2 separate regions of the Homo sapiens genome follow, and region 2 is linked to region 1. Evidence: promoter capture Hi-C in human tissues and cell types (Jung and others, 2019). All regions are on one chromosome and are shown on one strand. The core of a region is centred on a gene start or on the middle of the fragment in contact, and the rest is flanking DNA. Distances in the headings are between cores, read along the strand shown.

The links. The method cuts DNA at HindIII sites, captures the fragments that hold promoters and counts their contacts. A contact is called where the count stands out against the background at its distance.
Region 2: a fragment that was not itself captured here is called in contact with the fragment with the promoter of AS3MT in region 1 in 1 of the 25 tissues and cell types used here (mesenchymal stem cells).

The regions. Positions count from the first base shown.
Region 1 is chr10:102,868,197-102,870,774 of GRCh38, forward strand. It overlaps AS3MT (arsenite methyltransferase), which reads left to right and starts at 1,274. Exons shown (of 11, transcript NM_020682.4): 1 at 1,274-1,397; 2 at 1,609-1,649; 3 at 1,888-2,015. The coding sequence starts at 1,397. It overlaps BORCS7-ASMT (BORCS7-ASMT readthrough (NMD candidate)), which reads left to right. Exons shown (of 15, transcript NR_037644.1): 6 at 1,609-1,649; 7 at 1,888-2,015. It also overlaps the pseudogene LOC124902567. The HindIII fragment of the contact is 5,936 bases long and covers 1-2,578 here.
Region 2 is chr10:103,214,699-103,217,276 of GRCh38, forward strand. It overlaps the pseudogene ST13P13. Among named protein-coding and RNA genes, the nearest start is that of NT5C2, 23 kb to the left of the region's middle. The HindIII fragment of the contact is 6,509 bases long and covers 1-2,578 here.

The DNA of each region.
Region 1 (2,578 bases), core at 24-2,523:
TGGGGAGGCTGAGGAGGGAGGATGGCTTGAGGCCAGAGTTGAAGGATCCAGAGATGATTGCGCAGTGACGCTAAGCTTGGGCCACAGAGTTGAGACCCTGTCTCTAAAAATTTTTTTTTAATTTAAATTATAAAAAGAGAAATGCTTGTTACAACCACAAAGGGAAACAAGATATACACATATAATTGTGGAAGTAAAAATAAATAATTTAAAAATACTTTTGGGTGCTCGCTTCGGCAGCACATATAGTTGGAATGATAGAGAAGATTTGCATGGCCCCTGCGCAAGATGACATACAAATTCGTGAAGTGTTCCATATTTAAAAAAACAAAAAATACTTTTGGGCCTGGCACTGTGGCTCATGCCTGTAATCCAAACACTTTGGGAGGCTGAGGCGGGCGGATTGCTTGAACCCAGGAGTTGGAGACCAGCCTGGACAACATGGTGAAATCCCGTCTCTATAAAAAAATACAAAAATTAACCAGGTGTGGTGGTGCACGCCTGTAATCCAAGGTACTTGGGAGGCTGAGGCGGGAGGATCGCTTGAGCCAGGAGGTTGGGCCTGGGTAACAGAGACCGTCTCAAAAAAATTTAAAAATTAAAAAAAAAACTTTCTGCAAGATGAAGTGACAATACCTGGAAAATACATGTGACTTGACCAAAAATTACTATAGGTGAAAATAAATTTAGCAAAGTTGCTTTCCTAAATACAACCCAAAATAGACTGGGAACAGCTACATACTGTTAATGGTTCCCTCTATGTGACATTCTAGAAAAGGCAGAACTATAGGGAGGGAAAACATCTGTGGTTGCCCAGGAGCTAGGGGTGGGAAGAGGGAATTTACTACAAAGAGGCACGAAGAAACTTGTGGGCCAGAGCTATTTTGGTCTCCGTTTTGGTGATGTATATACGTTTGCCAGAGTTCACAGAACTGCACACTGAAGAAAGATGGATTTCACGGAATGTGAATTATATCTCAACAAACTTGACTTCAAAAAACAGATCGAGAAAAGATGATTCTATTCCCAAAAAGGGGGAGGGGGGAAGATCATTATATAGGTGAGTGTTCATTTAAATCAGAGTACGAGATTTATCCGTGAAAATCGCAGTGGAGCGAACAAGGGGGATGCTGATACCGACCTCCTGGTTGGAAAGCCTGTAGAGCAGCGCGGATGACAGTGGAACAGCGGGTCAGGCGGTGGGCGCCTGAGCGAGGGGCTAGAGCGGGATGGGCGGGCGGAGCAAGCCTGCCAGCCTGGGCGGGGCCTCGGCACAGGAGCTGGCTGCGGGAGCCCGCCGTCCTGAGTCGCAGGCCGAGGAGACAGTGAGTGCGCGCCCTGAGTCGCAGGCCGAGGAGACAGTGAGTGCGCGCCCTGAGTCGCAGGCCGAGGAGACAGTGAGTGCGCGCCCTGGGCGCCCCGCCCCAGCCCCCAGCCCCTTCCCTGGGCCCCCGCAAGGCGGGAACGCGAGCGCCTCCCCCGAGCTGTGTCTCGAGACCTTTGTCCTCCCCTCACCCCTCGGCCCGCTGCCTGCCCTTTACTGGCCCCCTCCCTCATGCCCGTCCCTCAGCACCCTCTCCTTTCAACTAACTTTCCCGCTCCCGACAGTGGCTGCACTTCGTGACGCTGAGATACAGAAGGACGTGCAGGTGAGAGCTGTAGGGCCTGGAATGGCCCAAGTGGAGCCTAGGCTAATGGAAGTCTGGCCTGGCCCGCACCCTGTCCCCCGGGACTCCTGGAGTCGGGGTAGGGCAGGGTCTAGGCTTCGACCTTTCCAGGGAACTGAGGTCGGCCAAGTGGAGGTGGAGGTGGTGACGGAGCCCTCGCGCTGCAGTCACAGCTCTTCTCCCTCTCTACCCCTCACTCCACTGTGGGACGCTGGGTCAGACCTACTACGGGCAGGTGCTGAAGAGATCGGCAGACCTCCAGACCAACGGCTGTGTCACCACAGCCAGGCCGGTCCCCAAGCACATCCGGGAAGCCTTGCAAAATGTACACGAAGAAGTAGCCCTAAGGTAGAGTGCCCTGTGCTGTCCCCAGGAAGACCCCAAACAGCAGTTTTCCCAAAAGATAATGATGCAGGTCACTAGGGAATTAACCCGTAGCCACCAACCCATCAGCTTGCCTTGTCTATTGTAAAAATCCTAAATCTCAGCACCCATCATCTTACTGCTCTAAGAACCTCCGATGAGTCTGGGCGCGCCAGTGAGCCTGTAGTCCCAAGTGCTTGGGAGGCTGAGGCAGAGGATCGCGTGAGCCCAGAAGTTACAGGCTGTAGTGTGCGATCCGGGATGTGAATAGCCACTGCACTCCAGCTTGGTCAACATAGCCAGATGCATCTCTAAAATAAATGCGTACTTTAAAAAAATTGCCTAAAAAAAAGAACCTCCAGCGTGAACACTCTGTAGTCCCTACCCATGCTCACAGAATACAGTCACACTCACTGGATCTGCCATTCAAGATATGCGCAGTTCAGCACCCACTAATCAACCTTGGCCCTTTTGACCCTTCCCTTCCTCACTCCATCAGCACTGCCTGCCCAGCCGGCAGTCACCAATTTGGAAGGTCTTCCCTTTTC
Region 2 (2,578 bases), core at 33-2,532, 350 kb after region 1:
AGTGGCGGGATCTCGGCTCACTGCAAGCTCCACCTCCCGGGTTCACGCCATTCTCCTGCCTCAGCCTCCCAAGTAGCTGGGACTACAGGCGCCCGCCACTACGCCCGGCTAATTTTTTGTATTTTTAGAAGAGACAGGGTTTCACCGTGTCAGCCAGGATGGTCTCGATCTCCTGACCTCGTGATCTGCCTGCCTCAGCCTCCCAAAGTGCTGGGATTACAGGCGTGAGCCACCGCGCCCGCCCATACTACCCTTTCTTTAGTGGTGGTCCAGAAAAAGCCCTCTGTTTCATTCTATTAGTTTTCCAGGAGACTTGCCTTTGGACCATATAACCTGGTTGAGGAAACCTGCAGGATTTAAAAAAAAAATTGTATCTTGATAAGCGAAATTCATGTACTGTTTTGGGTTCTTCAATGTTGCCATTTTCTCTTTTTCTTAAAATGAAGAATAATATTGTTGATGAAAAAAGCCAAATTCAGGCCAGGCCTGGTGGCTCATGCCTGTAATCCCAGCACTTTTGGAGGCTGAGGTGGGTGGATCACATGAAGTCAGGAGTTCAAGACCATCCTGGCCAATATGGTGAAACCCTGTCTCTACTAAAAATACAAAAATTAGCTGGATATGGTGGTACGCACCTGTAATCCCAGCTACTCGAGAGTGCCATTGCACTTCAGCCTGGCTGACAGAGCGAGACTCTGTCTCAAAGGAAAAACAAAACAAAACAAAACAAAAAAACTAAACTCCATAAAATATTTGAAGAGATTTATTCTGAGCCAAATGTGAGGACCATGACCCATGACACAGCCTCAGGAGGTCCTGAGAACATGTGCCCCAGGTGGTTGGGTTGCAGCTTGATTTTATTTATTTTAGGAGATCAGAAATTACAGGTAGACATCAGTCAGTACATTTAGATATACATTGGTTTGGCCCTTCTGCGTGGTCACACCAAGCCAGCATCTGGGCCTGGAACTGGGCTGCAGCCCCTCAGCTTCGCATACTGCCTCCTGACCATGGACCCCTGCAAAGTGAACGAGTTTTGGGCCTTTGTGAAAATTTGTAAGCAGGATCTGAGCATTCCGCACACCGAGGAAATGAGATTCCTGAGGGAGTGGGTGGAGAGCACAGGGGTAAAGTACCACCTACTACTCAGAAAGCTAAATCAGAAGAAAATACCAAAGAAGAAAAACTTGATAGTAGGAAGGTAGAGGAAGACTTAAAGGCAGACAAAACATCAAGTAAGGAAAGTGAGCTAGAAATTGATAATTAAGGTGTGATTGAACCAGACACTGATGTCCCTCAAGAAATGGGATAACAGAGGTGATGATGGATCAGGCAAATGATAAGAAAGTGGCTGCTATTGAAGCCCTAAATGATGGTGAACTGCGGAAATCCATTGATTTATTCACAGATGCCATCAAGCTGAATCCTTGCTTGGCTATTTTGTATGCTAAGAGGGCCAGTGTCTTCATCAAATTACAGAAGCCAAATGCTGCCATCCGAGACTGTGACAGAGCCATTGAAATAAATCCTGATTCAGCTCAGCCTTACAAGTGATGAGAGAAAGCACACAGACTTCTAGGCCACTGGGAAGAAGCAGCCCATGATCTTGCCCTTGCCTGTAAATTGGATTATGATGAAGATGCTAGTGTAATGCTGAAAGAAGTTCAACCTAGGGCACAGAAAATTGCAGAACATCAGAGAAAGTATGAGCGAAAACGTGAAGAGCAAGAGATCAAAGAAAGCATAGAAAAGTTAAGAAGGCTTGAGAAGAACATGAGAGAGCCCAGAGGGAGAAAGAAGCCAGACAACAGTCAGGAGCTCAGTATGGCTCTTTTCCAGGTGGCTTTCCTGGGGGAATGCCTGGTAATTTTCCCTGAGGAATGCCTGGAATGGGAGGGGGCATGCCTGGAACGGCCGGAATGCCTGGACTCAATGAAATTCTTAGTGATCCAGAGGTTCTTGCAGCCATGCAGGATCCAGAAGTTATGGTGGCCTTCCAGGATGTGGCTCAGAACCCAGCAAATATGTCAAAATACCAGAGCAACACAAAGGTTATGAATCTTATCAGTAAATTGTCAGCCAAATTTGGAGGTCAAGATTAATGCCTTTCTGATAAAGCCTTTTCTGAAGGAAAAGCAACCTACATCACCTTATGGATGTTGCAATGATACAAACCAGTGTACCTCTGACCTTCTCATCAAGAGAGCTGGGGTGCTTTGAAGATAATCCCTACCCCTGTCCCCCAAATGTAGCAGAAGCATTTTACAGTGGTTTGCCATTAGGGTATTCATTCAGATAATGTTTTCCTACTAGGGCAAACTTTAAGCACTTTTTAAACCTCAAAAATATTTAAAACAAATTTAAAGGGTCTGTTAATTCTCACAATTTTCTTTACTAATCATTTTGGATTTTTTTTCCTTTGAATTATTGGGCAGCAAAGATACTTATGTATGGAAGATTATTGCTGTAATTTGAGTGAAATAAAAGTTTATTACTGCGAGGCAAACATAACTCATTTGAGGAAAAAGCTTGTGTTGGATATGTGGTTCCTGAAGTACTTTGACTTGTCTTTTTAAAT